Linked DNA regions of Homo sapiens: regions 1, 2, 4 and 5 are each linked to region 3. Evidence: promoter capture Hi-C in 16 types of primary human blood cells and fetal thymus (Javierre and others, 2016). All regions are on one chromosome and are shown on one strand. Each heading gives the region's core, a stretch centred on a gene start or on the middle of the fragment in contact. The rest is flanking DNA. Distances are from core to core; before and after follow the strand shown.

Evidence for each region. The method cuts DNA at HindIII sites, captures the fragments that hold promoters and counts their contacts. A CHiCAGO score of 5 or more calls a contact.
Region 1: a contact is called between a fragment that was not itself captured here and the fragment with the promoter of FICD in region 3, in 1 of 17 cell types (M2 macrophages). The highest score is 5.9, in M2 macrophages.
Region 2: a fragment that was not itself captured here is called in contact with the fragment with the promoter of FICD in region 3 in 10 of 17 cell types (neutrophils, fetal thymus, monocytes and 7 more); the score reaches 15.0 in neutrophils.
Region 4: a contact is called between a fragment that was not itself captured here and the fragment with the promoter of FICD in region 3, in 8 of 17 cell types (M2 macrophages, M1 macrophages, endothelial precursors and 5 more). The highest score is 16.3, in M2 macrophages.
Region 5: a contact is called between the fragment with the promoter of USP30 here and the fragment with the promoter of FICD in region 3, in 14 of 17 cell types (neutrophils, M2 macrophages, monocytes and 11 more). The highest score is 12.9, in neutrophils.

What each region holds. Positions count from the first base shown.
Region 1 is chr12:107,973,196-107,977,886 of GRCh38, forward strand. No RefSeq gene overlaps it. Among named protein-coding and RNA genes, the nearest start is that of WSCD2, 150 kb to the right of the region's middle. The HindIII fragment of the contact is 6,913 bases long and covers 1-4,691 here.
Region 2 is chr12:109,098,110-109,103,333 of GRCh38, forward strand. It overlaps UNG (uracil DNA glycosylase), which reads left to right. Exons shown (of 7, transcript NM_080911.3): 2 at 323-529; 3 at 1,080-1,175; 4 at 3,793-3,890; 5 at 4,730-4,818. Among named protein-coding and RNA genes, the nearest start is that of UNG, 3.1 kb to the left of the region's middle. RefSeq lists a silencer at 1-56. The HindIII fragment of the contact is 1,375 bases long and covers 1,010-2,384 here.
Region 3 is chr12:108,511,447-108,516,624 of GRCh38, forward strand. It overlaps FICD (FIC domain protein adenylyltransferase), which reads left to right and starts at 3,831. Exons shown (of 3, transcript NM_007076.3): 1 at 3,831-3,915. RefSeq lists a silencer at 1,621-1,806 and an enhancer at 3,303-3,362. The HindIII fragment of the contact is 9,938 bases long and covers 1,030-5,178 here.
Region 4 is chr12:107,989,903-107,995,047 of GRCh38, forward strand. No RefSeq gene overlaps it. Among named protein-coding and RNA genes, the nearest start is that of WSCD2, 140 kb to the right of the region's middle. The HindIII fragment of the contact is 3,033 bases long and covers 1,052-4,084 here.
Region 5 is chr12:109,050,802-109,055,714 of GRCh38, forward strand. It overlaps USP30 (ubiquitin specific peptidase 30), which reads left to right and starts at 1,775. Exons shown (of 13, transcript NM_032663.5): 1 at 1,775-1,960. The coding sequence starts at 1,878. USP30-AS1 (USP30 antisense RNA 1) reads right to left here and starts at 3,164. Exons shown (of 2, transcript NR_038996.1): 1 at 2,885-3,164; 2 at 1,240-1,937. RefSeq lists enhancers at 1,969-2,468, 2,802-3,171. The HindIII fragment of the contact is 28,323 bases long and covers 1-4,913 here.

The DNA.
Region 1 (4,691 bases), core at 1,716-4,215, 540 kb before region 3:
TGTAATACCAACACTTTGGGAGGTTGAGGCAGGAGGACTGTGTGAGCTCAGGAGTTCGAGACCAGCCTGGGCAACATAGGGAGACTTTGTCTACTACTAAATTAACAAAACAAAACCAGAAATTTATTGTCTCACAATTCTGGAGGTTAGAAATCCAAAATCAAGGTGTTAGCAGGGCTAGTTTCTTCCAAGGTCTGTGAGGGAAGGGTCTGCTCCAAGACCTTTTCCTTGGCTTGCAGATAGCCGTCTTCTCTCCATGTCTTGTCCCACTGTCTTCTCTGTATGCCTGTTTGCCTTCAAGTTTTCTTTTTTTTTATAAAGACACTAGTCATACTGGATATGGGGCCCACTCTACACCAGTATAACCTCATCTTAACTAATTATATCTGCAATGACCCTATTTCTAAATAAGATCATATTCTGAGGTACTGGGAGTAAGGACTTCAACATATAAATTTTGGGGAAGGCATAATTCAACCCATAACACAGATATTTTATATATAAAATTATATATATGTATATATATAAAATTTTAAAATGATAAGATATAAAGATTCTAGTATTTTTTCCTGGTGAATTAAAAAGTTAGCTTTATTGAGACACCATTCCCATACTATACAATTCACCTATTTAAAGTGTACATTTCAATTATTTTTAGTATATTTACACAGTTGTGCTACCATTACAAGAATCAATTTTAGAACATTCTTATCACCCCATAAAGAAACCCCATGCTGTTAACAGTCACTCCCCAACTTCCTCCATCCCCTGACAACCACTAATCTACTTTCTGTCTCTATAGATTTGCCCATTCTGAATATTTTGTATAAATGGAATCTTATAATATGCAGTCTTTTGTCTGCTTTCTTTCAATTAGCATAATATTTTCAAGGTTCATCCATGTTGTAGCATGTATCAGTTCTTCATTCCTTTTGATGGCTGAATAATATTCCATTGCATGGACATACCACATTTTATTTATTTGTTAATCAGTTAATAAGTATTTGGATTATTCCCACTTTTTGATATTATGAATGGTGCTGTTATGATTATTTGTGCACAGGTTTTTATGTGGACATATGTTTTTATTTCACTTGGTAAAATAACTATAAGTGTAGTTGTTAAGTGATACAGTCACTGTACATTTAACCTTTGGAAGCAAAGTACCTTCTGGACTAGCTGTCCCATTTTACATTTCTACCAACAATGTATAAGGGTTTTAATATATCCATGTCCTCCCCAACACTTATTATTACCTGCCTTTTAAATTAAAGCCACTCTTGTGTGTGTAAATTTTGTCCTAGTATGGTTTTAATTTGCATTTCCCTGATGACTAACAATGTTGAGCATAATTTCATGTGCTTATTTCATATCTTCTTTGGAGAAATGTCTATTCAGATCCTTTGCCCGTTTTTAATTGGCTTATTTACCTTTTCATTATTGAATTCTAAGAGTTCTTTACATATTTTGGAAGTAAGTCCCTTAACAGATACAAGATTTGCAAATATTTTTCTCCTATTCTGTGGTTTGTCTTTTCAGTTTCTTGACGGCATTCTTTAAAGCAAAAATATCTTAATTTTGATAAAGTCCAATTAATTTACATTTTTTATAACTTCTGCTTTTGGTATTGAATTTAAGACATCAAATCTGAGGTTGTGAAGATTGTTTTCTTCTAATAATTGTATAGTTTTAGCCCTTATGTCTAGATCTGTAAAACATTTTGAGTTAGCTTTTGTGTTTAGTATACTGTAGGGGATCAATTTCATTCTTTTGCATGTGAATATCCATTTGTCTCAGCACTATTTGTAGAAAATATTATTGTTTTTTCATTGAATGACCTTGGCACTCATGTCAAAAATCAATCAGCCATTTTCAAGTACACAGTACATTAACTATAGTCACCATTATGATGCAGGACAAGTGAGCCCCAAAACTGGGGCTTAGCCCAGGAAGGTTTTTGGCTTTGCCCAGGCAAGAATTCAAGGGTGAGCTGGTGGTGTTGGATGGCAACTTTTATTAAAGCAGCAGTGCACAGCAGCAGCGGAGGGACTGCTCCTTGTGGAGCAGGGTTACCCCATAGGCAGTGTGCCCAGAGCAGCAGCTCAGAGGCAGGTCTGCAGTCACATTTACACCCATTTTAATTATATGCAAATTAAGGGGTGGATTATGCAGAAATTTCTAGAAAATGAGTGGTATCTTCCTGATTGCTGGGTTGTTGCCATGGACAGGGGTGATAACTTCCAGGTGCTGCCCTGGCAATGGTAAACTGACATGGCACTGGTGGGCATGTCTTATGGAGAGGTGCTTTTTTTTTTTTTTTGAGACAGGGTCTCACTATGTTGTCCAGGCTGGAGTGTAATGGTGCGAACTCGGCTCACTTGAGCCTCCACTTCCCAGGCTCAAGCAATCCTCCCATCTCAGCCTCCTGAGTAGCTAGGACTACAGGTGTGCACCACCACACCTGGCTAATTTTTGTATTTTTTTCTAGAGATGGGTTTTCGCTATGTTTCCCTGGCTGGTCTCAAACTCCTGGGCTCAAGTAATCCGCCTGCCTTGCCCTCCCAAAGTGCTGGGATTACAGATGTGAGCCACTGTGCCCCACCTGGAGAGATACTTTCACTTCTTCCCTGTTTCAGCTAGTCTTCAATATGGTCCAGAGTCCAAGCTCCACCTCCAGAGTCAGTTGAGTCCCGCCTCCTACCTCAATTATGTACAATAAATCTCTTGAACTTATTCCAATCAATTAATCAATCAGTAAACAATCACTTGGCCAAAATATAAGGTTTATTTCTGGATTCTCAATTTTATTCCATTGATCTATATGCCTATATTTTACTACTACCCTGTCTTGGTCTCTGTAGCTTTGTAGTAAGTTTTAATTGGAACTTGTGAGTCCTCCAATATTGTTCTTTTTTAAGATCATTCTCCCTATTCTAATCTCCTTGCATTTCCATATGAAACTTAGTATCAGCCTGCCAATTTCTGCAAGGAAAAAAAGCCAGTTGATATTTTGATAGGTATTGCATTTAATCTGTAAATCAATTTGAGGATTATTGCCTTCTTAAAAATCATAAATCAACATGAGATCTTTCCATTTATTTAGGTTCTCTTTAGTTTCTTTCAACAATATCTTACAGTTAATGGACTGTCTTTTGCATCCTGGGGTAGAGGCTACCTGCTTTGATCATCTCTGGTTCAGGGATTTAGGCACATTCATGAGGCTAATTCTATTACTTGCTGTACAATATTTTCTTTAGCCACCCTTTACTTGACAGCAACTAAGATGGCTCTCAGTGTGACTCTTGGCAGGTAGGAGGATGAGCTGGACCTTCTGCTGAGTGTGCTATATTTCTTATCCATCACTACTGATGATGATGATGATTAGATGAGTACTATGCTAAGTGTTTGTTTTTGTTTTTTTAATCCATGATCTCATTTTATCTTCAAAACATCCCAGTGAGGTAGGAATGATTACCTCTGTTTTGCAGATGGAAAAATTGAGCTTCAGGGAAGCACACATCTAAAAAAGGAGCAGAGCATGTAGTTGAACCAGGTATCTTGACATCCAACTCTGGCCACTTCCAGGCCACCCCAGTATGCCATCTCCCAGGTGGGTGTCAAATTTTGCCAATGAACTGTCTTTCCATTCCCTTTCAGTTGTACCGAAGACATAATAGTTACAGAGTACAGGGCATATAACTTGGCCCTGACTTGCTAGAGTCTCCTCTTCAAATTACCAAAACAGAAGCTGGTTGTATTCTTAGCAGCTGCTTCTGATTTCCATTCTTGGACCAAAATTTTTGTTCAAGAACCAGAAACTTGTTCGACTCATAAAACTCATCAGACCTCATGGGAGGATTGGACTATATGTATGTTCCAGGATGGAGCCCACCAGAATTACTGAAACAGAATCCCTGGGGTGAGCAGGAGTTAAAAGGAGCCTAGGATTTTGAATTTTAATAAGAACTTCAAGTAGTTTATGATCCATCTAATCCAGAAGACATGAGTAATGGAACCCACCCACCCATCCATCATTTTATTCCTTCATCCATCCATCCATCTCCTCATCTTTAAGATTGGGATAGTACTAGTACCCAGCTTATATGGTACATAAGTCAAATGAAGATATATGTAGGACATGCTTAAGAGTGCCTGGTATGTTGTGAGAGCTGATTAAGACTTACACGTGGGCATCTCCTATGGTCCTGGCTTTTTTCTGGTTATTAAAGACACATTAGAAACAGGCAAGGCCTTGTCCTTCTGGTAATGACCATCTAGCTGGAATGAGGACAAATTTGGGCATCAGATCAAACGGGGTTCAACTCTTGCCTCTGCCACCAGCACTGAACATGGACACACCACTGTACTTCCCTGGATCCATTTTATCAAATATAAAGTGAGAATAATGATAGAGTTACTATTTAATAATAATCAGAATTAAATAAGATAATATATATAAACTGCTTCACTACATATTAAAAGATACTTTATTTATTTTTCCTTCTTCACTGATAACTTAAAAAAAGTAGGTAATAGTAGTAATAATAATGATGTTTGCCATGGATTGAATACTTACTATGTGCCAAGTGCTTTACATTCATTCTCAATTCATACGAAGAAGAATAAGAAAGTAAGTACTTACATGGGGCTTATCACACATCAGGCATTGTTCTAAGCACCTTATGATATTA
Region 2 (5,224 bases), core at 447-2,946, 580 kb after region 3:
TTGCCGCGAAAAGACCACGTGGGGACGCGGTGGGGCGGGTCTGGCGGGGGCGGGGCACCTCTGTGCAGGGTTCCCAGTCACCGCGACGCTCCTCGGGAAGCCATAGGGCGCCTCCCAGCCCGTCTCCCCGCTCCAGTTTAGAACCTAATTCCCAATTCCCGGACCGGGCCCAGCCCTGGGCTCTTACTGTCCGCTTTTGCTGGGACCTGTTCCACAAATGGGCGTCTTCTGCCTTGGGCCGTGGGGGTTGGGCCGGAAGCTGCGGACGCCTGGGAAGGGGCCGCTGCAGCTCTTGAGCCGCCTCTGCGGGGACCACTTGCAGGCCATCCCAGCCAAGAAGGCCCCGGCTGGGCAGGAGGAGCCTGGGACGCCGCCCTCCTCGCCGCTGAGTGCCGAGCAGTTGGACCGGATCCAGAGGAACAAGGCCGCGGCCCTGCTCAGACTCGCGGCCCGCAACGTGCCCGTGGGCTTTGGAGAGAGCTGGAAGAAGCACCTCAGCGGGGAGTTCGGGAAACCGTATTTTATCAAGGTAAATATGGAAATGCACCTTCCATAAGGGTAAATGTGGAGGCTGCCGGCCCTTTTGTCTTGTTAGTGTAGCCGGCCAAGTTCATGTTTCCGTAGGCTTAGGTTGTACCCCCTTCAACCTCCTTTACTCACAAAGGGGGTAAAAGAAAGCCATGATGTTTCACTCTGCAGCTTTATATTGGTTAAAGTTGTTAACGACCCGCGAGATGATATCATGGATTCATTTAAGTCACATAGTCTATTGTCCAGGAAAGGCTGGCGTAGTAAAATCACCAACCATCCTGAATGAAACCTGGCTTGAGCTTTAAAAAGCCGAGAGGAGTGGCACTGTCAGGACCCAGCCCAGAGAAAGAGGCAAGGAATTGACCTGATTGAACCACTTAGGTGGGGGGGCAGGCACTGTTTTTGTTTGTTGTTTTTTAAAAGAATTTGGACATAACATGACAAAGAACTAATGATGTTCCAAATAACTTGCACTAGAAGCTTTCTTATTGAATTCTTATGGTTTCCAATGAGAATCTGATTTTAAGTCTAGTTTATCTTTAAATCAGCTAATGGGATTTGTTGCAGAAGAAAGAAAGCATTACACTGTTTATCCACCCCCACACCAAGTCTTCACCTGGACCCAGATGTGTGACATAAAAGATGTAAGTACAACTTGTTGATAATTTTTATTGGGGAGAAGGAGTCAAATAGTATTTTTAAATTAGGGACACTGGAGTTAAGCCACAGTCCATCATTCAGTAGTAAATAAAACACTGAAATCCCGAGGTTTGGCTGACTGTATTTCAGCCTGTATTTACTCTTTTTAATGTTTACCACGTGGTATTTATGTGGCAAAAAGGAAAACTATGTACATCCTGTGCTCTTATTTCTTGTATTTTTTTTAAATCCTGAAACTAACCTCCCGCGGTGTCAGATGTTATGGTGGTGGTGAAGTTCAAACTGACACACAAAGCAGTTAAATCTTTTGCAGCTTGTTATAGTCAACCCCACCTTGACCTGACCACACTGCCTTATAGTTAGCACTTTCAAGCTCTTGACTTCTGGCCTGAACAGTTTTGTGGTTCTGTTATCAGATCCCTTTGCTTTAGTTTGTCTTATATAACAGTTGCTGGTTGGCGGCTCTCATCCATCTTGTGTTCAGAAGTTCGTGGGGCTGGGCACGGTGGCTCATGCCTGTAATCCCAGCACTTTCGGAGGCCAAAGTGGGAGGATCATTTGAGGTCAGGAGTTCAAGACCAATGAAACCTGGTCTCTCCTAAAATACAAAAATTAGCCGGGCATGGTGGCGCACGCCTGTAATTCCAGCTACTTGGGAGGCTGAGGTGGGAGAATCGCATGAGCCCAGGAGGCGGAGGTTGCAGTGAGCTGAGATCACACCACTTCACTCCAGCGTGGGCGACAGAGCCAGACCCTGTCTCAAAACAAAAAAAAAACCGTGGCTTCTCACTGTTGAACTATGAAAGCAGAGCAACCCTCTTTAAATAGGGCCACGTCCTACCTCTCAGCCTTACCTCCACCTCCCACTCTCCCACTCCAGAGTTGGACAGTGTGGCAAACCCCTCCCCACTTCTGTCTCTTAAAAATCAAGTAGATGCCTCTGTGGCACCTCCTTGAATTGAAGTCCGTTGCCTGCCACCTCTGTGATCCAGTTTTCCTCTGAGCTGCTACGATGCATTTAGCACCTGCTGACACTGGACTTTTAGGTTTCTTACCCGTTTTCCTCCCCCGTTTTGTAAACTGGGGCAAGAATCTTGTGATTTAATGAATATCTGTGAAATGACATAGAAGTGAAATAGGTGAATAAATCATCTTGATAAGGCAGCCACACCTAATACTTAGAAAATCTCGTAAGCTTAATTTTAGAGTAAGAATTTAGAATCTAGCTCTTTGGTTTTGAAGCTAAATTAAATCCTATTAAGATCAATACTAATTTGCTTCTTGTTTGAATGCCCTATTCTGAATACCAGTAATCAGTATAAACAGGGAATATTAAAAGGAATATTTTGAGGGAATGCTCAAAAACCAGTTTCAAACCTATGAGGATCAGATGGGCCAGCAGGGCTTCTTGACAGACCAGCATTGGGAGAGTTGTTTCACAAGAGAATATGTTGGCATGGTGTGAACACCAAGGGGAGGGACAAGAGGTCCCCAAAAGCCTCCTGGTCATGGAACATCTGGAGCTGGATTCTGAAAGATAGAGTATGTCAGCTGTGGAGGAAGATTCTAAGAACGCAATGGCAGAAGCTTGAGAATGAAGACTAGGTGGGTGGGCCCTGGATGGGAAGGACGAGGCGGCCTATGTTTCAACACCTCCCGTGACAGGAACTTCATTTCATTTCATTGTCTCTTGCCACCTACTCCCATGGCCCTTTTGATCTGACCTCATTCTCTTCTGGCTCCACCTGTTAGAGGATATAGGGGAGCAGACACCCTCATATGCTGCTGGTGGGAAATCTGAATTGCTTTTTTTTTTTTTTTTTTTTTTTTTTTTTGAGATGGAGTGCAGTGGTGCAATCTCGGCTTACTGCAACCTCCACCCCCTGGGTTCAAGCGATTCTCCTGCCTCAGCCTCCCGAGTAGCTGGGACTACAGGTGTGCGCCACCACACCCAGCTAATTTTTGTATTTTTAGTAGAGATGGGGTTTCACCATGTTGGCCAGATGGTTTCGATATCTTGACCTCGTGATCTGCCTACCTCGGCCTCCCAAAGTGCTGGGATTACAGGCGTGAGCCACCATGCCAGGCCCTAAATTGCTTTAATTCATCGAAAAGTAACTGGGGGCTAGGCACAGTGGCTCATGCCTGTAATCCCAGCATTTTGGGAGGCCGAGGAGGGAGGATCCCTTGATCTCAGGAATTTGAGACCAGCCTCAGCAACATAAGGGAGGCCGTGTGTCTACAAAAAGTAAAAAAAAAATTAGGTGGGCATAGTGGTGCACTCCTGTGGGCCCAGCTACTCTGGAGGCTCAGGTGGGAGGACCACTTGAGCCCAGGAGGGCGAGGCTGCCATGAGCTGTGATGGCACCACTGCACATCAGCCTGAGCAACACAGCAAAACCGTGTCTCAAAAAATTAAAAAAGCAGCTAGGTACATATCTTTACAAGTTTAAAATACGCTTAGCCTTTGACCAGCAACTCTGCTATTAGCAATCTATGCCATAGAAGTGTTTTATTTGTTTTGTTTATGTTTGTTTGAGGCAGGGTCTGTGCTGCTTACATTACAGTATTGTTTAATTCCTGACCCCTGGTGGTTCACAGGTGAAGGTTGTCATCCTGGGACAGGATCCATATCATGGACCTAATCAAGCTCACGGGCTCTGCTTTAGTGTTCAAAGGCCTGTTCCGCCTCCGCCCAGGTACAGTTGCTTTACAGGTGACTGCAGTCCAGACATGATTCCTTTCAGATGTGTACTTAGCTTATTACAAGTGGGACTATCTGGGGCACTGTTCACTAGCCTTGGAGGAGGATTTCTCGGCCTCAGCACCATTGACATTTGGGGCTGAGTCATTCTTTGTTGTGGAGGAGGAGAGGAGTCCTGTGCTATTGCAGGATCTTGTGCCACATCCCTGGCCTCTACCACTGGAAACCAGGAGCAACCCCCAGCTCGTGATAATGAAAAATGTGCAGACATTGCCAAAAGTCCCTTGGGGGCGTAAAATCACCCCTGGTTAAGAACCACTGCTTTGGGCCGGGCGCGGTGACTCACGCCTGTAATCCCAGCACTTTGGGAGGCTGAGGCAGGAGAATCGCTGGATCCCGGGAGGCGGAGGTGGCAGTGAGCCGAGATCCTGCTACTGCACTCTAGCCTGGGTGACACAGCAAGACTGGAAAAAAAAAAAAAAGAACCACTGCTTTTGGAGGATTTGGTGTATGATATACATAAATATGCTAAGGACAGAAAACTGTCCCTGAGCAACAGTGGGGGTCTGGGTTGTAACTGCTGGGTTGATTTACTTAGGTTTTCCAGAGTGCTGTTAAATCCAAGTACAGACTAAAGTAAAGGTCTTTGGCAGAGTCACCTGTTAGAAGGAGGACTGGCAGTGTTGATCTCATTAATCGGCGCCATATGTGCCAGTGTCCCTTCCAAGGGCTGGCTGTAACTTCTAACCTTTTCACATATGTCTTAGACGTTACTGAGCTTTCAAAATTATGCTTAAGATTCTGTTTTTTGTTTTTCTTGTGGCTTGCTTTCAGTTTGGAGAACATTTATAAAGAGTTGTCTACAGACATAGAGGATTTTGTTCATCCTGGCCATGGAGATTTATCTGGGTGGGCCAAGCAAGGTAAGCCAGCGACTGCTAGATTTTTTTTTTTTTTTTTTTTTTGAGACCGAGTCTCACTCTGTTGCCCAGGCTAGAGTGCAGTGGTGCAATCTCAGCTTACTGCAACCTCTGCCTCCCAGGTTCAGGCGATTCTCATGCCTCAGCCTCCTGAGTAGCTGGGACCACAGGCATGAGCCACCATAGCTGGCTAATTTTTTAATGTATTTTTAGTAGAGACAGGGTTTCACCATGTTGGCCAGGCTGGTCTCGAACTCCTGACCTCAGGTGATCCGCCCGACTCGGCTTCCCAAAGTGCTGGGATTACAGGCATAAGCCACCACGCCCAGCCCCGACTCCATTGTTGATGGTAGTGGCTGCTGCCATTATGCCGGCTGCAGCAGGGAAGCACAGCTTGCTACACTGGATC
Region 3 (5,178 bases), core at 2,581-5,080:
TCGCCTGACGTCGTGATCTGCCCGCCTCGGCCTCCCAAAGTGCTGGGATTACAGGTGTGAGCCACCGCGCCTGGCCCCCACCAGGTATGTTTTAAAAGGAGGATTAATCAGTAGCAGGGAGAAGGGCTGCTGGGCTCTCTTTTTCAGCCACAGCATTAAGTTAGACAGAGAAAAAAAAATCAGGGGTGGGGAAAGATGAGAGAAATGAAGAAGCAAGAACAGGTGTGGTGTATTTTCTTTTTAATGAAGTTGAGTCATTCTGCAGCCAACTCAATGCCATGTAGCCTCAAGCCGGGGAGTTTTGTTTTTCCTAAGCAATAGAATCCGACTCTGCCAGCAAGAAGCGCTTGACTGCTGTTCCTTAAACATGCAGAAGGGTTTTTTGTCTTGTTTTGTTTTGCATAATGGACATATTTCCCATGCAGCCACTTTCTGGGTTCTTTGTCATGTGTCAAGGTAAGCGTTTAGAAAACTCCTCCGTGGGCCACGGGGAGGCAATTTTCACCTAGTACAGAATGCTTAAGATGGAGAAAGCCAACTTTTCAATATCGCTTCAGGGACCATATTTTGTGCATTCAACACAGCTGAATGCAGACAAAGTCGAGAGTTAAAATTTTTTGAGTGTAAACTCCTGACAAGGAGATTGAAGGAGGGAAGTGATGTCAGGTGAATTACTGCCCCCTGGTGGCCAGACACAGTAATGGGCTCATTTTGCTGTAATAGTCCTTTGAGTCTTTTCTTCCTGCGTTCCCCTGCCATCTTCCACTACCGGCTACAAAGGGGTTACAATCTGGCGGCCCTGGAAAGCCAGCCGGCAGCCATGCCAACTGCCTTAAAATCTGGAGATACTGCTTAAAAAATCTAGGCCTCACATTTATTTTGAAAAATTGAAAACTCTATCCACTTTTAGACTGCATCCCAGCTAATAAATACGGGTTCGAGCTGAGAAGCTGCTGCCCACTTTAGACAAGGCATGTGCTCTCAAATCTGCCATACTCCCCACCTCTACCTATTGTCTCATGGCCAGGAAGCTTTGCTCATTAGCAGTTCCTGCATAGCCTCTGGATTTACTACTCGTAGCCTAAGCTAATTAAAGACTTAACAAAGAGAGGAGGGTGCCTTTAGAAGCAGAGGACTACATTGCTTTATACCTGGGTGTGGACAGGGGTCCACTAGTCCCTTAATACCCAGCTCAGTGAGGATAAGTGACTTGTTCAAGGTCACCCAGCCAGCAAGCGGTGGGCCTTGCATTTCAACGCACATCTGTCTGACCCCAGAGCTTCACTGTTTTCTAACATACTGTCACCCATAAGCTGGCTGCCTACCAGGCCCTCCTCTGGGGAAGGTTTTTACAATGACATTACTACTTGGGCCATCAGGAAGTGCAATTCAGAGGACTCCAAGAGAAAAATGTTTATGACCTTGGTTGAAAAGATTAAAAACGAGAAGCCACCAAAATAATCACCACCCTGATTTTGTTCCTTAAAAACTATGGATCTTCTGGCCAGGCGCGGTGGCTCAAGCCTGTAATCCCAGCACTTTGGGAGGCCAAGGCAGGTGGACCACTTGAGGTCAGGAGTTGAAGACCAGCCTGGCCAACAGAATGAAACCCCGTGTCTATTAAAAATACAAAAAAATTAGCCGGGTGCAGTGGCACATGCCTGTAATCCCAGCTACTCAGGAGGCTGACGCAGGAGAATCGCTTGAACCCAGAAGGTAGAGATTGCAGTGAGCCAAGATCACACCACTGCACTCCAGCCTGGGTGACAGAGCAAGACTCTGTCTCAAAAACAAACAAACAAACAAAAAAACAATTAGCCTGTGTGTGCCTGTAGTCCCAGCTACTAGGGAAGCTGAGATGGGAGGATCACTTAAACCCAGGACATGGAGGTTGCAGTGAGCCAAGATCATGCCACTGCACTCCAGCCTGGGCAACAGAGTGAGATCCTATTTCAAAAAAGATAGATAGGTGATAGATAGATAGATAGATAGATAGATAGATAGATAGATAGATAGTTTGCTCTGTGCCAGATGTATAGAATCTCATTTCACCCTCACATAAAACCTTGTGAAGTGGTAATATCATCACACTGTGCACAGTTTACAGAAAAGCCTAGACAGATGATCAACAAGATCAAGTCACTTGCTGAATGTGATTCAGTTTGCAAGGGGCAGAACTGGGATTTGAACCCAGGTCTGTGTGACTCCCAACAGTGACACCCCACAACCACCACCTAGCCCTGCCTCCAAGAGCAATACACGTCACAGAGGAGGTCAGATCTTGAAGCATCAAGCCTTCTGCAAATCCTGAACTGGATGCCAAAAGCAAGGTAGGCTGTTTGTCCCCATTTTACAAGTGGGGAAAGTGAGGCTAGGAGTAACGTGCCCAAGGTGACACGGAGAGTAAATGGCAAAGTCTGAATTTGAGCTCAGGTCTCTTTGACTCCCCAGAATCTGAACTGCTAACTTCTAAATGCTTAGCGTTTCTGGGGCACCTCCCTAGATGTTTAATTTCAGTATTTGTGGATTAAGATGGAGGTTTCCATTCTCTGCTTCAAGGAAAAAATTTCTCTCTGGGAAGCCAAAAGAACTAGCCAGGTCCTTCTGGAGAGGATACAAATTAAAAAGTCAGGGAGAACCGAGGGGGTGGCTTGCGCCTGTAATCTTAGCGCTTTGGGAAGCCGAGATGGAGGGAGAGCTTAAGGTCAAGAGTTCGAGACCAGCCCGGGCGACATAGTGAGACCCGGTCTCTAAAGAAAATAAAAAATCAGAAATAGGTCGGGCGCGATGGCTCACGCCTGTAATCCCAGCACTTTGGGAGGCCGAGGCAGGCGAATCTTCTGAGGTCAGGAGTTCGAGACCAGCCTGGCCAACGTGGTGAAACCCCATCTCTACTAAAAATACACAAATTAGGCGGGCGTGGTGATGCGCGCCTGTAATCCCAGCTACTCGGGAGGCTGAGGCAGGAGAATCGCTTCAACCTGGGAGGCGGAGGTTGCAGTGGGCCAAGATCGTGCCACTTCCCTCCAGCCTGGGCAACAGAGTGCGATTCCGTCTCAAAAAAAAAGAAAGAAAGCAAGACAGAGAGAGAGAAAAAAAAAGAAAGAAAGAAAGAAAAGAAAAGAAAAGAAAATTCGCCGGGCATGGTGGCATGCACCTGTAGTCCCAGCTACTCGGGAGGCTGAGATGGGAGGATTGCTTGAGCCCAGGAGGTGGAGGCTGCAGTGAGCTGCAATTGCTCCACCGCACTCCAGCCTGGGCGACACAACGAGACCCTGTATTTTATAAGAAAAAAAAAAGTTGTTTAAGTCAGGGAGGAAAAGACACAGAGAGGAAAAGAGTAAAGAAGAAGAAGGCGGCAAACTCAGCAGCATGGGGTGGAGGCTAAGAACAGGGGCTGCGCAGTCAAGCAGGCTAACCGGGTGAAGGGGTGAAAAGCATCAGCATCTTCATTTCACAACCGGGAAAAATGAGGCACACGACAGCGGCTCCGGGACGAAGAGACCCGAGGAAAAGACCGCCGTGGAACTTCCAGTTTCCGGGCCCGCCACCTAGTGTGCCCCAAATCCGCACGCCCATCGGGTTTCCAGCACCTGCTCCTCCTGCCTGTGGCCTAGGCCCCGCCCCTCCCGCTGCTTATTGGCTGCTACGTGAACGAGACAAACGCAAGCAACAACCAATGGGAGTGGCCCACGGCGCGTCTTTCCCGGGGAAGCCGACGCGGACGCGGGAACCCGGAAATGCGAGGGAAGGACAAGTGGGGAAAGCCAATCCGCCGCGACGAGGGCTGCGGGCGGTTCAATGGCAAGTCGCCGGGGGCGGGGCCAGAGGCCGGCGGAGAAGGAGGACCCGGGAGCCGGCGGCCCGGAGCTGGGAGCGCGGGGAAGGCGGTTGGGGTTCTGACAGCTGCGCGCGGTGAGAAGGGGAAAAGCCCTAGGGGCTCGAGAGGATGAAGCCGGGAAGGGTGCGACGGGGCCGCGAGCCCTGGGCGGGGTTCGGGAAGGGAGGCTCTGCAGTCTTGGAGGGGACTCAGACCGGTCCCCTCCCCTCTCCGGGCCTCAGTTCTCCCTTTCTAGGGAAGTGTGGGGGAGAGATTCGCGCCTCCCAGAACGCACTCCTTCCCTGCACACACCCCTGGCACCGGCGAACTGCCCCCTTTCCTGTACCGCCCCGCCCAGGAGCCTGTCCCCTCGGGAAGCCCGCCCAGACCCCTGGACCCGCGCAGCACTCCAGGCGCACCCCTATTAAAGCGCACCCCAAGCCATTTCACATGTTCTGTGGCAATGGGCCAGGATCCCCATGAGACTCAGAACCCCGTGATCCATCAGTCATTCCCGGGTCAGGACCAGCCCAGAGCAGGTGCACAGGCCCTGCTTAGTAATAAGGTAGAAATCGAGACCTGGGGACCGGGTTCAGAGGCCCTGGGGTTTCCTTCCGGATGCCTCTGTTTACCTCCTGTGGGCCTTCTGGAATTTAACTTATGCTCTCTGTGTCTTGGTTTCCCTTGTCTGTAAAATGGAGCTAGCGGTAGCTCTTCCTTCATAGGGTGGCATGAGGGTGAAACGAGGCAATGCGTGGCCAGTACACTGCTCAGCACCTAGGACACCATAGTTGCTTAATAAGTGCTTATTGTTAGCATAGTGTTTGCATGCCTGGCCCCACCTCCACTCCCACTGCCAGCCCCAAGCACATACAAGCCATGTTGTCACTGAGGCCAAGCACTGTGGCCCACAGCCTGAGTTCCTTTCGAGATGCTCGAACTGCTCATCTTCTTGATGGGGTCCCTTCTGGACAGGCCAGAAATGGAAGGCCAGAGAGGGGAAGGGCACTGTGGGAGCTGTGGCTGAATATCAGGGTGAGGGCAATAAATGAGGCCACCCAACAATTGTGCTTATCAAAGATTGGGCGTCAGAACTGCTGTGGCTGATCTGCCTGGGTGTCTGTCAGTCATTTATGTCCCAAATGTTTGACATATGTCCACAAATCCAGTGTTTGTGGTCAGAAGCCACAGGGATATATGGGAAGGGGGGACACTTTAGAGCCGTGGGGTTCCTGAGTTCAAGTCCTAAGGCTGTCACTTGCTCCCGGCGAGACTTTCGGCAAGGGACTTCACCTCTCTGAACCTCAGTTCCCTCACCTGGAGAAGGGTGAAAACATCAGCTCAAGTCGTTGAAGATT
Region 4 (5,145 bases), core at 1,318-3,817, 520 kb before region 3:
ATCAGGGAAGGAAACTATGCCGTCTAAGGGAAGACGTAAAAAGAAAAGAAATAGCCAAGCAGTAGAATAGGGAGTGGAGAGACTGCCTCAGCTCAAGAATGTCCCAAGCCTGGGAACTGCAAATAGTTCAGTATTGCAGGAAAGATGTGTTAAAAGAAAAACCTTAGCTGAATTAAATTTAACAGAGTATAATTGAGCAAAGGATGATTTGTGAATGGGGCAGCCTCTTGAGCCAGAGGAGGCTCAGAGAGACTCCAGTGCAGCCAGGTAGTGGAAGAGTTACAGACAGAAAAAGGAAAGTGATGTAAAGAAAATTGAAGTGAGGTACAGGAACAGCCAGATTGGTTAGAGCTTGGCGTCTGCCTTATTTGAACACGATTTGAACAGTTGGCCACCTTTGATTGGCCAAAAACTCGGTGATTGACACAAGAGTAGACTACAGTCTGTTTACAACTCCATTTAGGTTATAGTTCACAAAGTATAGGGCAACCTTTAGGACAAACTTAAAATATGTAAGGAGGCAGCTTTAGGCTAAACCTGATCTAACAGGTGTATTTTGGTGAAAACATACAGGGAGAGGTGAAGTAGGAAAGCCAGCAGGGGGCACACACAGACCAAGAAAACCTGTCGAAGAGCCTGGTCCCAAGGGCAAATGGGGAGCCATTGAAGGCTAGCAGGGGAGGAGTGAACAGACTCGTTCTTTGGAAAGATGACACTGGCTGCTGGGGCTCCTAAACTAGGAGACTAGTTTAGGAAGCTGAACTGGTCATTCAACTCTAAAGTAGGGCAGTGGCATGAAGTGAATAGATTGAGATATATTTAAGGAGCATAAGCAACAGGACATGGGGACTGAGTGAGGGAGAGGAGCAGCATGGCTGCTAAGAATGACCCTGGGTAACTAGGCAGACAGTGGATGGAGCATTTTTGTAGGGTGTGGAGTATGTGTGGCAGAAATGTTCGTAACTATTAGCTGGCTCTTCTCCACCAGGCCACACATCTCTTTAAGTCAAATTTAAGAAGTGCTATTGATCTTGCTAGTAATTCTTACAGAAGCTTGAACCAGGGTGATAATTACCTGAAGAAGTAAGTTGGGCAAATTCCCCTGAAGGTATACTCTTGAAAGATAAGAAATAAGTCCACAGCCATTACCTACTCTTAGAGCTACCTTTTGTGATTACTTTTATATCTGGTAACAATTAGGAGCAGATGAGTTATTGGAGTATACATTCAGAAGATGCTCAACTTTCTGCACAATCTTGACACTCAATACAACAAGATGTATTCATCCCCTGCTCTGTATCACTTGCTTCTCTCAATGGGTTGAACCAGGTAAACATGGCTCTTGCCCTCATGAAACTTCCATTCTAACATAGAGTTCTGGTATCTTCTAAATGAAGTACTAAACCCTCCTTTCCTGTAGGGGTGCCTGAACAAGAATAAGAGTGTTATCAGTTAGGCATCACTGTATAACAAAATGTACTCAAAACCTAGTGGCTTAAAATAACAACCATTTCATTTGCTTAAAATGTTGCCATTGACAATTTAAGCTGGGCTCAGCTAGGTGGTTCTTATTATCTTGGCTGGGCATATTCTTGCATCTATGTTCAGCTATGTTGGGTAGGCCACTTTACTGATCCTGACTAGGCTGTCACACGTTTGAGGGCCTCAGCTGGGATAACTGTTCTGAATGGACTCTGGTCCACACGTGTCTCATCCTCCCATAGACTAGCCCAGGCTCTTCATGTGGCAGCTGGGAAGGTATCCCAGAGAGAATGAAAGTATACACAGTCTCTTGAGGTCTAGGCTTGAAACTGACATAATATCACTTCTGCCATGTTCTACTGGCCAAAGCTAGTCACAAGGTCCAGTCCAGATTCAGGCAGTGAGGAAGTAGGCTCCATTCCTTGATGGAAGCACTAGCAGAGTCTCATTGCAAGGGCCATGGGCACAGGGAAAGGAAGAATTGGGGTAATTTTGGCAATATACTCCAAGGACTCATCTGCTCCTAATTATTACCAGATGCAAAAGTAATCACAAAAGAGAGCTCTAAGAGTAGGTGATGGCAATGGACCTATTTCTTATCTTTTAAGCCAAACAGGAGACTTATTAAGACCTGCTCTTTCCCATAAGGGAATTTTCAGTGTCCCTTTTGGCTGCTGGGTCAGTCAACTTTTTCTATTTTAGTTTTCTGACTGTAGCTATCCTCTCCTTTTCAACCCCCAGGACAACAGCCTATGGTTCTCAGCACAGATGTCAAAGAAATGAAATGTCAGCGGAGTTCACTGTGACCCTAGAGGCCATTGCCTCCCCCCTCACTCTCCCATCTCCTCACAGTTGCCTTCAGCAGGGCTGGTCTCCACTATTAATAAACCTTCCCCTTCAGCACTTTCTCTCAAGGGGACAGTATCAGAAAGACTCCCATCTATCTTCCAGCCTGACTCCTGCCAGGCTGGTGAGAAGGTCTTCTGACGTGGAGATAAGAAATCCCAGACATGACTGCTGTGTAGGGGAAGCTCAGGAGTTCCATTTTCCTTATGAAAGGTCAAATCACTTCTTTTGCAGTGTTTGGAAAGAAAAAAGCTAACATAATGTGCTTTCTAAATGCCAATGATCTTGACATCCCTGATAAAGAGAAGTCAATGAAGGAAGAGAGTGGCTCAGTAGGAGAGCTGACTTCTAAGTGCCAGTGGAAGAAGTAAAACATTTTTAATAACTCACGTTAAAGGCTGTGGTTAATTCCATCCTGGGTTGTGGTAATGTAATTATTGCTGCTTTAAAAAAATCCTGCATGTTTGCAGTGAATATATTATATTTTATTGCAACAGTAATAGCTCTCCCTCAAGAGGCTGAGGAGGCAGGCAGGCCAGTCACAAACTGGTCCTATCAACTTTTCATTCCTTCTTTCCTTAATCACTAATCTGTTGAGTGGTCACTGTGTGCCTGGAACTGAGCTGGGATATAAAAGAGGTAACCAGCACAGCATTCGGCTCTTAAGGAACTCACAGTCTAATTGGAGAGCATGACCAGTCAACAGACAATCCTATAGAAAGTGATGCATGCTACCCCAGGAAGTGCAAGATGTTATGGCAGCATCCCCATTGGAGGGTATGGGGAATCATCTCCTGCAGTTCCTTCCTCAAGCAGTAGAGGCTCCATGAAGTTATGAGCTAAGTCCAGCACATTTGCTACTGGTATGCCTGGTGCCTGGCACTTAGAGGGAGCTCGTTCCTGTTTGCTGGTTGATTTGCTGGTGTGAATCCTATATTCTCCTTCCACAGGGCCATCACCCTTATGCAAACATTCCAAGCAGTTTTACAAATGTGACTTGGAAAATGTGCCTTAGAAAATACTGCTGTTTCTGTCTGGAACGTCTTTTTCACCATTTAGCACCTGGAAAACTTTTATGCACCCTTCAAGACTTAGACCAAATGCCCTCTCTTTTGCAATATATTTTCAGATTTACTGAGCAGAATTTATCCTCTCTTCATAATGGCTCTAAGCATCTTGTTTATATATCAAGTTTGCTTCTTATCGAAGGACTTTCTTATTGTAATTATTATTTTTTTTCCTTTGGAATACTTAAAATTGCATTTTATTTTCTGCCTCTATAGAGAGTAGCTTATGCCTTTTTTCTTTTATTATTATTTTTGATCAACACATAATAATTGTATGTATTTATGGGATACAGTGCGATATTTCAGTACATGTATACAATGAGTAATGATCAAATCAAAAGAATTAAGATATTCATCACCTCAAACATTTATTATTTCTTTGTGTTGAGATCATTTGAAATCTGCTCTTCTAGCTATCTGAAAATATACAATAAATTGCTTTTAATTATAGTCACTCTACAATGCTATAGAACATTGGAACTTATTCCTCCTATCTAGCTTGTAGTTTTGTATTTGTTACACAAATTTTAGCTACCTCCCCAGGTCCCCTCCACCCTTCCCCACCACCAGTAACCACTATTCTACTCTTTACTTTTCTGTAGTCAACTGTTTTAGCTTCTGTATGAGTGAAAACATGCAGTATTTATATTTATGTTACTGGTTTATTCCATTTAACATAATGTCCTCCAAGCTTATCCATGTTACTATGAATGACAGAATTTCATTATTTTTTATGTCTGAATAGTATTCCATTGTGTATATATCACATTTCCATTATCCAGTCATCTATTAATGGCACTTAAGTTGAGTCTATACCTTGGCTATTGTGAATAATGAAGCAGTAAACATGGGAGTGCAGACATTTCTTTGACATACCGATTTCCTTTACTTTGGATATATACCCAGTAGTGGGATTGCTGGATCATATGGTAGTTCTACTTTTAGTTTTTTGAGGAATCTCCATATTTTTGTTTTCTATAATGGCTATACTAATTTATTTTCCCACGAACAATGTATAAGAGCTCCCCTTTCTCTGCATCCTCTCCAGCATTTATTATTTTTTGTCTTTTTGATAATAGCTATTCTAACTGGGGTAAGATGATATCTCATTGTGGTTTTGATTTGCATTTCCTTGATGAAAAGTGATGTTGGCATTTTTTTTCATATACTCGGTGGCCATTTGTATGTCTTCCTTTGAGAGATGTTTATTTAGATCATTTGCCCATTTCTAAATTGAATTATTTGTTTCTTTTTTTGGTGTTGAGCTGTTTGAGTTTCTTATATATTCTAAATATTAATTCCTTGTTGTATACTTGCTAATATTTTCTCCCATTCTGCAGTTTTTCTCTTCACCCTGTTGATTCTTTCTTTTGCTGTGCAGAAGCTTTTAGTTTGATATAATCCCATTTGTCTATTTTTGCTTTTGTTGCTTTATGCTTTGGAAGTATTCTTCATGAAATATTTTCCCAGACCAATGTCCCGAAGCATTTCCCCCTATGTTTTCTTCCAGTAGTTTCATAGGTTCAGGTCTTACATTTAGGTGTTTAAGCTATTTTGAGCAAACTTTTTGTATGGTAGGAGATATGGGTCTGGTTTAATTTTTCTGCATATGGATATCCAGTTTTCCCAACACCATTTATTGAAGAGACTATTTCTTCCCCAGTGAATATTCTTGATTAAATTTATTTCTAGGTATTTTATTGTATTTTGTAGCTATTGTAAATGATATTGTTTTCTTGATTTCTTTTTC
Region 5 (4,913 bases), core at 525-3,024, 540 kb after region 3:
TTCAAGCAGCCTGACCAACATGGTGAAACCCCGTCTCTACTAAAAATACAAAAAAATTAGCCGGGCGTGGTGGTGTGCACCTGTAATCCCAGCTACTCAGGAGGCTGAGGCAGGATAATCGCTTGAACCTGAGAGGCGAGATCGTGCCATTGCACTGCAGCCTGGGCGGCAGAGCAAGACTCCATCTCAAAAAAAAAAGAATGTAAATTATCTCATCAATAATTTTCACATAGAAATGACATATTTTGTTTTTCTTTTCTTTGTTTTTCGGTAGCCATGGGTTCTTGCTATGTTGCCCAGGTGGCCTTGGACTCTGGGCCTGAAGCCATCCTCTCACCTGGCCTCCCAAAGTGCTGGGATTATAGGCATAAGCCACTGCACCTGCCCCAATATTTTGAACATATTGGGTCAAGGAAAAAATATGGTTAAAATTAATTTTACCTCTTGCTTTTTTTTTTTTTTTTTTTTTTTTTGATGCTGAATCTCTCTCTGTTGCCCAGGCTGGAGTGCAGTGGTGTGATCTCAGCTCACTGCAGCCTCCGCCTCCCAGGTTCTAGCGATTCTCCCGCCTCAGCCTCCCGAGTAGCTGGGATTACAGGCACGCGCCACCACACCTGGCTGATTTTTGTATTTTTTAGTAGAGACGGGGTTTCACCATATTGGCCATGCTGGTCTCGAACTCCTGACCTCAAGCAATCCGTGCCCCCCACCCCCACCCCCCGGCCTCCCAAAGTGCTGGGATTACAAGTATGAGCCATCGCACCTGACCTCTTTTTTTTTTTTTTTGAGATGGAGTCTGGTTCTGTCACCCAGGCTGGAATGCAGTGGCATGATCTTGGCTCAGTGCAACCTCCACCACCACGGTTCAAGCAATTCTCCTGCCTCAGCCTCCTGAGTAGCTGGAATTACAGGAGCCTGCCACCACGCCCGGCTAATTTTTGTATTTTTAGTAGAGATGGGGTTTCACCATGTTGGCCAAGCTGGTCTCGAACTCTTGACCTCAGGTGATCCACCAGCCTCGTTCTCCCAAAGTGCTGGGATTACAGGCGTGAGCCACGGCGTCTGGCCTACCTCCTGCTTTTCACTTTAATGTGGCTACTGGAAAATGTAAAATTACCTATGTGGCTCCTGTATATTTCTGTTGGAGAGTGCCATTCTGGAGACAGACAGACCGAACTGCCAATCTCTGTTTCACCACTTACAAGCTGCGTCAAAAAACTTACTATTTCTTCAAATTTCCTGGGTTCCCTGGGATGTAAAATGTGGGTAATGTTAGAGTTGGTGTGAATATTAAATGTAAATAATGAATGTAACATACTTAGCTCTATACCTGGCACCCAAGTAAACAATAAGTTTGTTGGCTATTAAAGACGTTGATTTCTCTACTGATATCGTCAGAGATGGGCCTCATGCTCATTAAAGTTCCTTCCTCTGCGACCTATTTCCACTCTGGCCACAATAATAACTAATTATAGCAGAGGCCTGACCCGACTTTCGGCTGTTGGCCTCCCTTCCCCACATCGAAAAATTCAAATCATGACCCAGGGTCCATCCTAGAAGTGTGCCATCTGTATTTATGAATGGAGCCTAAGCAAATCTGAAAACCAAGCAGCCCCAGGCAACTGAGCCCAGCGTAGCAACCGACGCCGGGGCCTGTTGCTAAGGGAAAAGAAAGAAAGGACGTGGTCCGTCAGCTATTGCTCTCCGGGGGCAGCTACTTCCGGTCCCCCTGGGAGCTGTCCTGCGGTCTACGTTCCCCCGAGGTGCTGGGACTGCGGCCGCAGGTTCCGCTGTCTCGGGAACCGTCGTATCCCTCGGTCCGGCGGCGGCGGCGGCGGTAGCGGAGGAGACGGTTTCAGGCCTCCGGTGCGGCTGCAATGCTGAGCTCCCGGGCCGAGGCGGCGATGACCGCGGCCGACAGGGCCATCCAGCGCTTCCTGCGGACCGGGGCGGCCGTCAGGTGAGATTTTGGGGGGCGGGGCTGCCGAAGAGGCCGGGACCAGGGTCCCCAGCTTGGGCCCGTGACGGCTTTTTCATGCCCTAGTTGGGGTCTCCAGGGCCCGCGCGGGCATTCTGGAAGGTTCTGCGTCCTTTAGGGTTGGAGGCCTGGGCCCGTAGGTGGGAGGACTGACGGGCTCCAGTCCTTCGGCAACACCAATTCTGTCTGCACTCCCCAGGTCTGTCAGTCCCTCCCCCTCCTGTCATTGTTCCCAGGACACCCGGGGCACTCCAGTCTTGTCAAGGCCCCTAATTCTGTCAGTGCCCTCAGTCCTTTCAGTGCCTCCTAGGCCTGCCAAGACCCCTCAATCCTTCTAGTATACCCCCAGTCCTTCTGGGTCCCCCAATCATATCAGTTTCTGGACTGCCAGGGTTCCCCAACCTTGGCACGGTTCTTCTAGTCCTATAAGTGCCCCGGGCCTGCGAGCCCCGCGTTTTGTTAGTACCGCCCCCTATTCCTGTTAGCCCGCCCTCTAGTCTAATATGGATCGCCACTTCTGTCTGGGTCCCTGATGTTGTTAGTGTGAGTAAAGGCCCTTGTTTTGCAAGGGTCTCTAAATTGGTCAGGGCCCCTTTAACCTGTTAAGGTTGCTTGGTCCTGTTAAAGCCCTCCGTTCTTGTTAGGACTCCTCGATTGCCTGGGTCCCCAATCCTGTCAGGGCCCCCATTTCCCTCTTATTCACCCTCCCAAGGGCTCCAGGCTTCAGAACTGAGTACCCCCTCCCCCACTGCTGACCCCAAATGACTGAGACCTGTTGCTCAGGTCGGCTTCCTCTGGAACTGGAGCAGGTTTAAAGAGCTTATTATCCCAGGGCTGAAAGTCCTCGATACTTATCCTGTCCAGTGCCCCCATTCCGTAGATAGGAAGTGTGGCCCCATAGCTGACCTCATAGCAGAGTTGGGAGGAGAAGCCAGATCTTTTCATCCGCAGGCCCCACCACTCTCCTCGTGATGTCATTTTGCAGAGGAATGGAGTTTCCAAAGTCGCCACTTGTCCCTGGGTATTTTTTCCTTATGCTGCCAAAGTCATGGACAAGTCCTCTCTCCCATCCCCTTGACACTCTTCCCTTCAGTTTCCATCTTGAACTTCGTGGTTTTAAGCACAGACCTGGGGAGACAGACAGGCATGATTCAGAGCCATGTTCCTTCACTCACTGTGACCAAGTTGGGCTCTTAGTTTCTTCTGCTATAAAAATGAAAGTGATAGTAGAACCTGCATCTGTGGGGTTGTTTTAAAAATGAGGTAAGATTGTCACAGGGCCTGGCAGAGAGTATGTACCCTTAAATATTAGTGTTTGATTAGGGGATTTTAAAGCACTGGTAAAGCACCTTAGCACTTCCATGACAGTCCTTTATAATCTTTCCAGGCACTTTTGTGAACTCACGTATCGTGTAAAAGCACAGTGATGTATTAAGAAACTTCAAGAATACCTTTCACCAGCTGGGCATGGTGGCTCACACCTGTAATCCCAGCTCTTTGGAAGGCTGAGGCAGGTGGATTTCTTGAGCTCAGGAGTTCGAGACCAGCCTGGGCAATGTAGTGAGACCCTGTCTCTACAAAAAAATTTAAAAATTACCTGGGCATGTGGTGTGCAGCTGTGGTCCCAGCTACTTGGGAGGCTGAGGCAGGAGGATCACCTGAGCCCGGAAGGTGAAGATTGTGTTGAGCTGAGATGGCACCACTGCACTCCAGCCTGGGCACTAGAGCAACTAGAGCAAGACACTGTCTCAAAAAAAAATAAAAATAAAAATAAGAAAAAAAGAAAGAATAGCTTTCATGAATGATCCTGAGATTGTAATGCTTAATTTGTAGCAGCTAACATTTATTAAGTTCTTACTATGTACTGTATGCATTCACACTTATTTAATCCTCACAACAGCCCTATGAGGTAGGTCTTATGGATTGTCCCCATTGTACAGATGAGGAAACTGAGGCTTAGAAGGTGAAGTGATGCCAAATGAAATAGCAAAGCCAGGATTGAACCAGAATAAGGTAATCCCACTTTCTTAACCAAGTTTGGTGCATATTCTGTTGACTCTGTCTTGGAAAACAAATATTTATCTGAAATTCAGCTATCAGCTATGATACTAAGAAATGCTGATTATTATAAAACAGGGTCAATATTACCACCAGTGACTCTTCACCAAGTTAATGTTTACTGAACTGAAATCAAAACAATATTCACATGATCCAAATACTGGGATAATAATGTATTACACACACACACACACAAACACGTATGTATGCATGTGTAACATATATGCAGATACACATTACATAGCTATATACACATAGATGGTTTGTCTTATTTTGTAGAAATATATAACTTTGTATAAAAACAATGTTTTAAATTGTTGGGGAAATTTCTTAATATGTAGCAAAAGCATAACCAGCGTTCAAGTCAAGCCTGAAGTTAGGAAATCTTTAATTTTATAAATATTCAGCTCTTTTATACCATTGTATGTGTGCCCCTTCCCTGTCTAATATTCTAAAAGAGAAATTCATTTCTGTATATTTTCTCCAGTATTCAGTCATTCAATAAATATTTTATATATATATACACACACACATATATATACATATATATATATATATATATATTTTTTTTTTTTTTTTTTTTGAGGCAGAGTCTCGCTCAGTCACCCAGGCTGGAGTGCAGTGGCGCAATCTGGGCTCACTGTAACCTCCGCCTCTTGGACTCAAGCCATTCTGCCTCGGCCTCCAGAGTAGCTGGGATTACAGGCACCTGCCACCACACCCAGCTAATTTTTGTATTTTTAGTAGAGACAGGGTTTCACCGTGTTGGCCAGGCTGGTCTCCCACTGACCTCAGGTGATCCGCCCACCTCGGCCTCCCAAAGTGCTGGGATTACAGGCATGAGCCATCACACCTGGCCTCAATAAATATTATTGAG